Linked DNA regions of Homo sapiens: all the other regions are linked to region 4. Evidence: promoter capture Hi-C in human tissues and cell types (Jung and others, 2019). All regions are on one chromosome and are shown on one strand. Each heading gives the region's core, a stretch centred on a gene start or on the middle of the fragment in contact. The rest is flanking DNA. Distances are from core to core; before and after follow the strand shown.

The links. Contacts are between HindIII fragments. The study calls those that stand out against the background at their distance.
Region 1: a fragment that was not itself captured here is called in contact with the fragment with the promoter of ZNF778 in region 4 in 6 of the 25 tissues and cell types used here (IMR-90 fibroblasts, dorsolateral prefrontal cortex, hippocampus and 3 more).
Region 2: a fragment that was not itself captured here is called in contact with the fragment with the promoter of ZNF778 in region 4 in 6 of the 25 tissues and cell types used here (adrenal gland, bladder, dorsolateral prefrontal cortex and 3 more).
Region 3: a contact is called between the fragment with the promoter of CPNE7 here and the fragment with the promoter of ZNF778 in region 4, in 2 of the 25 tissues and cell types used here (dorsolateral prefrontal cortex and lymphoblastoid cells).

Annotation. Positions count from the first base shown.
Region 1 is chr16:89,528,608-89,531,446 of GRCh38, forward strand. SPG7 (SPG7 matrix AAA peptidase subunit, paraplegin) reads left to right here. Exons shown (of 17, transcript NM_003119.4): 6 at 870-972; 7 at 2,076-2,201. Among named protein-coding and RNA genes, the nearest start is that of SPG7, 22 kb to the left of the region's middle. The HindIII fragment of the contact is 6,586 bases long and covers 1-2,839 here.
Region 2 is chr16:89,480,607-89,483,306 of GRCh38, forward strand. All of the region lies in intron 1 of ANKRD11 (ankyrin repeat domain containing 11), which reads right to left. Among named protein-coding and RNA genes, the nearest start is that of ANKRD11, 8.6 kb to the right of the region's middle. The HindIII fragment of the contact is 7,186 bases long and covers 1-2,700 here.
Region 3 is chr16:89,574,179-89,577,015 of GRCh38, forward strand. It overlaps CPNE7 (copine 7), which reads left to right and starts at 1,580. Exons shown (of 15, transcript NM_153636.3): 1 at 1,580-1,893. The coding sequence starts at 1,720. RefSeq lists silencers at 1-43, 504-733, 974-1,043. The HindIII fragment of the contact is 23,727 bases long and covers 1-2,837 here.
Region 4 is chr16:89,216,263-89,218,962 of GRCh38, forward strand. ZNF778 (zinc finger protein 778) reads left to right here and starts at 1,441. Exons shown (of 7, transcript NM_001201407.2): 1 at 1,441-1,648. It overlaps ZNF778-DT (ZNF778 divergent transcript), which reads right to left and starts at 1,391. Exons shown (of 1, transcript NR_186410.1): 1 at 1-1,391. RefSeq lists enhancers at 1-273, 1,223-1,272, 1,797-2,327, 2,328-2,700. The HindIII fragment of the contact is 6,098 bases long and covers 869-2,700 here.

The DNA of each region.
Region 1 (2,839 bases), core at 306-2,805, 310 kb after region 4:
TTTTTTTTTTTTTTTTGGAGTCAGGGTCTCACTCTGTCGCCCAGGCTGGAGTGCAGTGGTGCAATCTCAGCTTACTGCAGCCTCGACCTCCCAGGATCAGTGATTCTCCCACCTCAGCCTCCTGAGTAGCTGGGACTACAGATGCACACCACCACATCCAGCTAAGTTTTTTTGTATTTTTAGTAGACACAGGGTTTATTCTTACATTTTTCTTTTCTTTTTGAGATGGAGTCTTGCTCTGTAGCTCAGGCTGGAGTTCAGTGGCACGATCTTGACTCACTGCAGCCTTCACCTCCTAGGTTCAAGCATTTCTCCTGCCTCAGCCTCCCAAGTAGCTGGGATTGCAGACGCATGCCACCATGTCCAGCTAATTTTTGTATTTTTTTAGTAGATATGGGGTTTTACCATGTTGGCCAGGCTGGTCTCAAACTCCTGACCTTGTGATTCACCCGCCACGGCCTCCCAAAGTGCTAGGATTACAGGCGTGAGCCACCGCGCCCGGCCTGAGATTTGCTTTTTACTCTTAGGCTGATCTTGCCTGCCTGATTGAAGCTGATCGCTTACATTTGAAAACAAAATATACTGAAAATAGAAAAACCTGAACGTTGTTATTGTCACAAGGCTGGCTAGATCTCCGGCATCTGCACACTCAGTCTGACCATTTGGGAAGCTTTCATGAAAAAGCACAGTCAGCGAGAATGAGACGAGAGAACCCATTTCCACAACCATTTTAATCTGCGCATCGGTCCCAGACGTAGGGATTCCTCGTCTCATCTTGGAAACATTGCCAGCAGTGGTTCTGATTTGGAAGCCTGCGTCTGTCACGTGACACCGTCTGAGCCTGTGCCTGCCTCTCTTTCTTCCGGCAGTGCCCTGTACTCTGTGGGGATGACGGCAGTGGGCCTGGCCATCCTGTGGTATGTTTTCCGTCTGGCCGGGATGACTGGAAGGGAAGGTGGATTCAGTGCTTTTGTAAGTTCTGTAAATCAGAGCTCTCTGAACTCTTTCTGGTTTGTGTTTGCTGAATACTTTTCCCATAAGCTATACGATGAATACACAGGGAAAACCTGTTGCAGAGAGTAGCCTGAAGCCACAATTAGACAGCAGCTCACCTTCCTTTCCCATGGTCCGGCTGTAAGGCGTGTAGTAACCAATGTTGCCTGAGGGCCTCTCACCCCTAACTCTGGGGTGCCTGAGCCTTGTGAGATTACAGGGCAGTTGAATCTGCGTTTTTCTTTTCTTTTTTTTTGAGACGGAGTTTCGCCCTTCTTGCCCAGGCTGGAGTGCAGCCGTGCGATCTCAGCTCACCGCAACTTGCACCTCCCGCATTCAAGCAATTCTCCTGCCTCAGCTTCCCGAGTAGCTGGGATTACAGGCACGCGCCACCACGTCCAGCTAATTTTGTATTTTTGGTAGAGACGGGGTTTCTCCATGTTGTTCAGGCTGGTCTCGAACTCCCGACCTCAGGTGATCCTCCCGCCTCAGCCTCCCAAAGTGCTGGGATTATAGGCATGAGCCACTGCACCTGGCCTTTCTTTTTTGTGTGTGTGTGTGTGTGACAGAGTCTGGCTCTGTTGCCCAGGCTGGAGTGCAGTGGTGCGATCTCAGCTCACTGCAACCTCTGCCTCCTGGGTTCAAGCGATTCTCCTGCTTCAGCCTTCCAAGTAGCTGTGACTACAGGTGCCTGCCACCACACCCAGCTAATTTTTTTGTATTTTTGGTAGAGACAGGTTTCACCGTGTTAGCCAGGGTGGTCTCGATCTCTTGACCTCGTGATCCGCCCATCTCGGCCTCCCAAAGTGCTAGGATTACAGGCGTGAGCCACCATGCCTGGCTGAGTAATTTTTTTTAAAGCAAATTGCTAGATAAGTTTCTTACTAATTAATGACGAAACATTTCCCTTCTGTGCTTGAAGACTGACTGTGAGCCTCGTCAGCCTGACATGAGTGAAGCCTTGGGATCCTAGGATGGAGACGTGGGGTTGGGGCGGCTCAGGTGCGTGGGCTGAGCGCTGGCATCGTGCTGCTGATTTCCTGACTTCGCCCAGCTCCTTGCACTTTGTTCTTTCTGCACAGAATCAGCTTAAAATGGCTCGTTTCACCATTGTGGATGGGAAGATGGGGAAAGGAGTCAGCTTCAAAGACGTGGCAGGAATGCACGAAGCCAAACTGGAAGTCCGCGAGTTTGTGGATTATCTGAAGGTGAAAGCAGCGTGGGCCGGGAGGGAGGTGTGAGCAGAGGCCGGCCGTCCTCCTCTCCCAGAAGGGCTCCTGCGGGACCTGGAATTCCATCGATGACGTGTCGTGGGTTGGCGGTGACCTCTACCATGTCCCATGGGGACACCAAGCAGGTGCTGGTGCCTGTTCAACCAGCAGCACAAGCCTCGTGCACATGGTTCAGCCAAGCAGAGGCTGCCAAGACCCATGCCTACTGTGCCGTTAGCCGTCCTGGGCCCTTCATCCCTTGCAAAGCTCTGTGCTTTTTCCAGAACCACATAAACACCTTAGCCAGTTGGTGGCAGTGCATGAGCTGCCTATCACGTGCGTCACTTACACGTTTCCTCCGCGGGCCTGGTACGGTGGGTCGCACCTGTAGTCCTGGCACCTCGAGGGGCTGACATGTGTTCCCTCTGCAGGCCTGGTACAGTGGGTCACGCCTGTAGTCCTGGCACCTCGGGGCGCTGAGGCAGGGGAGTGACTGAGCCCAGGAGTAGGAGATCAGCCTGGGCAACAGTGAGACCCTGTCTCTGCAAAACATTTTTTTATTTAATTAATTTTTTTTTTCGAGACAGAGTCTCACTTTGTCACTCAGGCTGGAGTGCAGTGGCACAATCTCGGCT
Region 2 (2,700 bases), core at 15-2,514, 260 kb after region 4:
TATTTGGGCAAACAGAATCCCCGTTCTTCTTTCTATACTCCTTCTAGCAGCAGGCTTCAACCTCCAAAATCTCTAACCCCCTTCTGTTTGGACCCAAAACCACTATCTTGGCCCACATTTTACACTGTCCTGACAAAATATCTGAGGGCAAATACCAGTCTGCCTTGGCCATTAAAGTCATTTAGGCAACACATCTGCCGAGCTGAGCAGAGCCAGCAGGTACCCATCTAACACAAGGCTCCGTCCTGGGCTGTGCCCCTCAAGAATTCCCCAGATAGCCATTTCCTTTCCTCAACTGAGATGCCCACTTCTCCCTCCAGAATGTGGGCAAATCACACCAGTGACGTCCACATCTGTCAAATGTCCCCAGGGCAGAGAATGGAGAGTGACACACAGTAGGCACAAAATAAACAGCACCCAGCTTCTGCCCCACCACCCCGTTCCCCATTCCTGCTTTCTTTTCTGTCTCCTTTGCTCTATCGTTTCACAAAGCCACTCTCCTAACTAATGTTTGCCCCATTCCCTCCACTGGGAATCAATTCATCTTCTCTTTTTCCAAGTCTTTTTAATGAATACCAGTTAACACCATGAAGTCTTCACAATTCACCTACACAGTGTGCTTTCGAGTCCCCTTCCCTATTTCAAGTTTCTCCAGGTTCTCTTGTAGGGATCTTCTTAAGGCTGCATGTGATGTCTTGTGCCTGTCATCCCAGCACTTTGGGAGGCTGAGGCAGGAGGACTACTTGAGGCCAGGAGTTCAACATCAGCCTAAGAAACATAGCGAAACCCCATTTCTACAAAGAATTTTTAAAAATTAGCGCACGTCTGTAGTTCTAGCCACTCATGACGTTGACGCAGGAGGCTCACTTGAGCCCAGAAGCTCAAGGATGCAGTGAGATATGGTCACGCCACTGCACTCCACCCTGAGTGACAGAGCAAGACCTTGTCTCAAAAAAAGAACCATTTAGGCACCATGGTGTTGCAAAGCCAGTGCTTTCATCTAGGCATCCACCGCCTGCAAACTCTGACACATCATCTTCTGCCTCAAAACAAGTAAGCAAATGAAATTCAGGTCTATCATTGCAAACCCTACACAACCCAACTCCAGTCATGCTTCCAGGTTAATCTGCTGTCATCTTCCATCTTCTTGGATGGGCTTTCGTGTTCAGACACGTCTGGCTGACATTCTCACGTTACATGCGGCCTTCCCAGCCTTTGTCCCCAGCCTTCCCGAAGTCGAAGATGCCCTTACTCTGATTTCTGCAGTGACATTCTACTGATTCTTTTTTTAAAACAGAAACATAGCTTACAGTTAAAAAAAAAAAAAATAGCACTTCTTCCCTTAAATCTCCCAGGTCACAGAGCCTTTCCCTCCTCTGATCTATGATCTCTCTTTTCATAAGAACCAATATTTAATGCAAGCTTTAGTCAACTAAATGCATCTTTCTCCCAGATCTCAGAACAGGAGGCCACAGCACTGCACCCAGTGAGCAGCCAATGAACATCTGTGAAGGAAATCAGTGAAACATCAGAAAAAGCAGAGTTTGTCTAGTTTCAGAAGTCCCTTCTATAAAACATGTAGCTCCTTCCAGCTAAAAGAAGACACAAAGCTGTTCTCCCACTGTAGAGCACACTGCACCCCATTTGGAAAAGCAGTCAGGTGAGCCACACGTCAGCCACACCGTGCTTTACAAACATGCCAATGTGTGAACGGTCAGTCACAAAGACATAAAAAAAGATGACTGCCCTCATCAAAACTGCCAAGGTCATGAAAAACAGGGAAACGCTGAGAAATGGTTGCAGACGAGATTAAGGAGACATGACAACTAAATGCAATGTGGGATCCCGGATGGCATCTGAGGACAGCAAGGGAACATTACTGGAAAAACCTCCAGCTTGCTCACCCCTGGAACCTGTGAATGCCTTAGGTTACGTGGAAAAGGGAACTGAGGTTACTAATCAGCAGAGAGGGAGATGACCTCGCAGTGCTCGGGTGGGCCCAATTTGTAACCACAAGGATCCAAAAGTGAAACAAGGGCCAGGCACAGTGGCTCCATGCCTGTAATTCCAGCACTGCTGGGGGGCTGAGGCGGGAGGATTGATTGAGCCCAGGAGGTCGACGCTGCAGTGAGCCTTGATTGTGCCACTGCACTCCAGCCTGGGCAACAGAGCCGAGACTCTCCAAAAAAGCGGGTGGGCAGCAGGAGTCAGAGAGATGCCATGAGGCTGGCTTTGAAGACTGAGGAAAGCACTACAGGCCGAATGCAGGCAGCCTCTGGAACACGGAAAAGACAAGAACACAGATTCTCCCCTGGAGCCTCCAGAAGGAACCAGCCCTACCTACCCAGATTTTAGCCCAGGCAGATCATGTTAGGCTTCTAATCAACAGAACTATAAAACAATAAATCTAAGGTTATGGTGGTTAGTTACAGCAGCGCTGGAAAACCAACACGGGCAGCACTGACACAAGTCCCAGCACTTCTCCAACGCCCAAGAGCTGTTCTCTGTCTCCCTTCCACACCCTCCATTTGCCTTCACTCATCCCCCTGAACCAATATATTTATGGGCTTAGAAGAAAGCTATTAAGGAAAAGGCACAGATTAAGTTCTAAGACAGATTTTCTCCTCAACTCTCTAAAACTTCACCGTACCATTAGCTTCTACTAAATGTCCTTTTTTACAAGAGTCAGTTTCAACATCA
Region 3 (2,837 bases), core at 330-2,829, 360 kb after region 4:
ATTTTGCCAGGGTGCCGCTATGTGACAGCCAAGGGCTGAACTGGGGTGTTCCAGGTTTAAGCCGGGTACCCCTCAGACAGCCTGGTGGACCTCAGGCCTCACGCCACACTGCAGACGAGCAAACCTCAGGGCGGTGGTGAGGAGCTTTCGGGTGAGGTCAAGGCAGGAAGCGGAGCTTGGTCTGGGGAAAACTGTCCCAGGGCTGCTGGAACCGAGCGGGAGGCACGGCCTGCAGGAGCTGCCTGGGCGCCCGCACCCTTTGCCTGAATTTCGCATCCTTTTCCCATGGAAGTGGTTGGGGACCGAGGATGTGGCCTCCCGGCAGCCTGGAAGGCTGGGCTGAGGAGGACACAGGGCCGGGAAGGCCCAGACTGGTCCCTAGAGAGCGGGACTGGCCTCTGCCCACTGCGGGCTTCAGGGAGGAGGCGCAGAGGCCGGGGAGACAGCAGATGGGGCCCTGCAGGCCTCGCTGCGCCCTGACCTGTTCCTCGCCTCTTTAGCCAACCTCCCGGGAAGGCAGGAGCCGGTCTCCATGGCCTCTCCCGGCCCTGCCAGCCCCGTGGGGCCTCCCCGCCCTGCAGCCGCGCCCGGCGCCATCCCGCCGTCCGACCGCGAGGGGACGCCGCTGGCCGCGTTCCTCCTCCCAGGCCGAGGCTGCCTGTGCTGCCTCCCGCCGGCGGGGCCCTGAGCCTCCTCGCCCTGTCGGCGGCGGTCCCCTCTGACCGCAGGGTCTTCTTCTAGAGTCCTGATCGCCGAGGCTGAGCGGAGGCGCCCGGTCTTCCCGCCTCTTCAGTCTTAATGTCTCCCTCACCCTCGCCCCCCACCCCCGTGGCTTTTGGCGAGGTCCGTGCCCTATTTTTAGGCAGAAATCGGCAAAAAGAGTGGACTGCGAGGTGGTTTCTGTCCCCGCCGACGCCTCCTCTTCCGCTGCTCCCTCCCCCGGGACCGGTGATGGGGAAGGTGGGGGAGTGAGTTCAGGGCGGAGCGGGCCCACCCCCCACGGAACCCAGGCCTGCCCCGCCCCGCCCCGGCCTCGGGGGACTGGTGTGGACCGTGCCCCGCGGACCCCTCGGAATCAGACCGCGATTCAGCCCTCGGCCCCCCGGGACGGTCCTTCCAGCCCCAGACGAGCGCGGCGCCTGCACACAACAGGCGCCCACTAAATGCTTGTTGATGGAGGTGGCGAGTACCCGAAACCAGCGGAGCCTGGAAATGGGATCCTAGAGATCCGGGAAGGGCGCGGGGATCTGGTGCCAAGCTGGGGTCCCCCTTTTGCCTCCCCTAGTGTCTGCCTGGGTCCGAACCCGGGCTCAGGCCCCGCGCAGCTCGGAGCCTCCAGCCCGGAGCCGGTCCCTGGGCCGGGGATGCGCACAGCCGGGGAGGGCGCGCCCGACCTGACCCCAAAGCTATCAGTTGGGGGGGGGGTCCCCGGGGAATTAGAAGCTGTCTCCTCCCGGGCATCTCCGAGGGGCACCCCTGCCTCTGCCCCCTGCCCTCATTTCCCGCCGCGCCCCTCCCCGGCCCCGCCCCCCGGCCGCGCCCCACCCCCTGCAGTCCCCGCGCGGCGGCCGCCCGAGCCACGTGCGCCCGCGCCCGGCAGGCGTTCAGGGAAGCGCGGCCACGCCTGGGCCGGCCACCATTTCCCGGGCGCCGCGGCGGCGCCGACTCGCGGGCAGCGGCCCCTCAGTGCGCCCAGCCGGGCCCCCGAACGCCGGGAGCATGAGCGCGGGCTCGGAGCGCGGGGCGGCGGCAACCCCCGGGGGTTTGCCCGCGCCCTGCGCCTCGAAGGTGGAGCTGCGGCTCAGCTGCCGGCACCTGCTGGACCGCGACCCGCTCACCAAGTCCGACCCCAGCGTGGCGTTGCTGCAGCAGGCGCAGGGCCAGTGGGTGCAGGTAGGGCCGGGGCGTGGGAGGCCGAGAGGCCACCGGGCCGGGGCTGGCGCCGAGCTGGGGATGCGGAGACCAGAGCGGGCGCGCTGAGGCCAGTGGGGCGCAAGGCGGGGCCCCCCGGAGCTGGGGCTCAGCTCGGGGTCAGGGTTGGGGGTTACCAGGTCTGGGGGTGGGGTGTCCAGAGCTGTGGGGAGAGGCTGGGCTGGAGGAGGTGGCGGCGAGCGGGGTTCGGAGGAGAGAGGGGGGTGCCCCGCAGTGAGGGGTGCGGCCCAGGGTTCGGGGAGGGGGCCCCGGGCCAGAGTGAAGCGCCCAGGCATGAGGCGCGGGCAGGGGGCTCGACCAAGAGGCGCAAGGAGATTGAGGGGTGAGGGGCGCCGGCCGACGGGGGGCGGGAGGCTGGGCGGGAGCAGGCCGGCGAGGGAGCGCGCGCTGGGGTGCGGACCTCCAGGCGTCCGGGGCTCCCGCTCCAACGTGGGTCTCAAGCGAACCCGCTGTGATCGCGGTTGGGGTCCGAAGGGGCACGGGGCCGGCGCCAGACGGGCGCTTCCTCGGTCACCATCTCGCGTGAAACGCGTGGCTTCACCTCGAAAGGGCGAGAAACGCATGGCGCGAAGCCGCAGCGGGCGGAGGAGCCGGAACTCGAACCCCAGTCCGCGCGGGGCGCCAGCGCTTTTCCCCGGCGCAGGGGTCTCTCCAGGCTCCAGCGCGGGCCCGGGCGGCTGCTCGGGCGGTGGAAGGGACGCGGTCACCCGGTGGCGTCTCCGGTCATCCACCTTGAGGGTGAAGGGCCTGCCCCGCCCTCACCGCCTGTCCCCAGGGTTCCGGCTGCCCCCGGAGGCCCCGTGCCCGCCCCTCACAGCCTGAGCCCACCCTTCACATCCCGAGCCCACCATCCCCACGGAGGCCTCGTGCCCGCACCCTCAGAGCGTGAGCTGTACGGGTGGCCC
Region 4 (2,700 bases), core at 191-2,690:
TTAATAAATAATAAATAAAACACATCCCAAACACTCATAGTGTTGAACCATTTAGCATGTGGTTGCTTTGTATACTTCGTGAAATTGTGTCCAATCTCTGCTAGCCATAGATAAGATAAATCCTGGGGCTCTAAAGACTGCAAGCCGTTGCTGCCCTTCAGAGCTTTGTGACTCAGACACCTGTCAGGCTGCTGAGAAACGTGATCTAGTCACGTCAGCCCTCCCCCTGTCTGATCTCCTTCTTCTCTGGGAGTTCTCTGCGCGCCCCCCGCCCACGCTCATTTTTTTCTCTTTTCTGAGTAGTGACCCCCAATTCGAAGCCTGTGGGTAATCTCATGGTGCGTGAGACTCCCTCACCCTCCAACCTGTCAAAGCTTGTGCGCCACCGCCACCTCCTGGGCACATCTTGTTTCTTAATCAGCCACGAAATCACGTGAACACTTCACATGTGGTTTTGTTTTGTTTTTCACATTTAGACTCCTGATCCGTTTGGAGTTTATCCCTGTGAGATCCAGAATTAATTTCATCATTTCTCAGACGGCTAACCATTTGTCTTAGCACCTTTCATTATAAACTGCATGTTTGTTCCACCGCTCTGAAATTATGTTTATGAACCAAATTTCCATGTTACTGGGTTGATGTCTGGATATTCCATTTGTTTCCTGTTCATGTGTCACTAGCACACAGTTTTAATGACAGAGGCTGTTTTCGCATCTGTCGGGCATTGCGCTTTTGTTTGTCCGCGTCGTCTGCGTTATGAGACATTTGTTCCTCCATGTGAACTCCAGGATCAATATGCCTGGTTCCAAAAAAAAAACCTTTTCGTATTGTTACTGGAATCATGTGACATTTCTGAATGAACCTTGGGAGAACCCCTGGTATCAGTGCTATTTTGCAACGTAGTATAGGTGGTCTTGGCTCCTACGGTACATTAGAAAAGTAACAGAAACGCATATTTGAAGCGAAAAATAGATGAACATTTACAGAAAAAAAAAATACCACATTGAAAATGCAGTGGAATCAACTGTTAAAAGTTCGGCGTGATGTTCAGACAGATAAAAAGGAACGGGGCCAGTGACTCCCTGCAGAGATCGAGAGAAGACCGAGCACTCCCAGCACCCGCGGGCTTCTCGCTGTGACCGAACCGCGGGCCGCGCTCGCGACGAGCACTTCCTGGCTGTACCCGCCCAACCGCGCCCTCCTGGTCTGTTCCGGCTCCGCAGTTGCGTCCAGAGGCCTGATCCTTACGTCCGCCTGGTCCTCCGGGCCTGTCTCTGCCTCCAGCCCGGTTCCCAAGGGCGCCCCGGGGCCCTCCCGCACCCTCGCGGAAGAAACTACTACCTCCCCGCACCATAGGCCAAAGCTTCGGCCCGGAGGCTGGAGGCGGAAGTGACGCCAAAGACGCGCCGGCCCCTCTTCCGGCGCCGGCCCCGCCTCCGCCTGTCTTACAGCTGATCCGGTTCTTGCGGCGGTGCGTGCTGGCGCCGGAGAGTTCCGCGCGTGTCCTCGGGCTGTCCGCGGGGAAGCTGGTCCGGGAGTGGGCGCCCGCCCGCCTGCCTCGCGCCTTGCGCCCCCGGCACCGCTTCCAGAAGGGAAAGTCGCCGCCGCTCGCGGTAGACCCGGGCAGCGCTTCCATTCCGCGGAGCTGGTGAGAGAGGGGCCCTTTGCTTCCTTCACTTTGAACAGGGCGTGTTTCTGTGAGAATCTGGCTTCGGCTTTGACGTTTTTTATTTGTTTCTGGCACATTGTGTTGGGACCGAAGCGTAAGGTAGACCCCTGAGCGCCCCGGGCGTGCAGCTCCCTGTGAAAGTTAGCCCGTGGGGGCCAGCGGGAGCGCGCGTCCCTCGCCGCCGGGACTTCCAGGCCCGGCCCTCGGGGCGGGAGGGATGCGGCCGTTGTCCCGCTGGTCTTGGAGTAATCGAATCCACGGTGAACAGTGTGTTTCGACTAACTGTATTTTTTCTCACGTTTTGCTTTAGAAAATCTGAATCTAATAAAAATGTGAACATCTGCTACAAGGAATATCCACTGCAATCGTTTTACTCCTTTTTAGCTTTGGGCCATGTTTTCTCTCTCCCCCAATAAATAAACCTTACGGTGAATTATTATTTGAGTGTAAGTAAGTTGAAATTAAACTGCACACATGATACTTAACCTTTAAATACTTGGTAAAGCGTCTGTTAAGGGTAAGGACATTATCCTACTGAAACCACAATATTAGTATTTCATCTAAGAAAATTAAAATTAGGCCGGGCGCGGTGGCTCACGCCTGTAATCCCAGCACTTTGGGAGGCCGAGGCGGGTGGATCACGAGGTCAGGAGACCGACACCATCCTGGCTAACACGGTGAAACCCCATCTCTACTAAAAATACAAAAAATTAGCCGGGCGTGGTGGCGGGCTCCTGTAGTCCCAGCTACTCTGGAGGCTGAGGCAGGAGAATGGCGTGAACCCGGGAGGCGGAGCTTGCAGTGAGCCGAGATGGCGCCACTGCACTCCAGCCTGGGCGACAGAGCGAGACTCCGTCTCAAAAAATAATAATAATAATTAAAAATAATAAGGTCCGCTGGGCACAGTGGCTCACGCCTGTAATCCTAGCACTTTGGGAGGCCGAGGCGGGTGGATCATCTGAGGTCGGGAGTTCAAGACCAGCCTGACTAACATGGAGAAATCCCGTCTCTACTAAAAGTACAAAATTAGC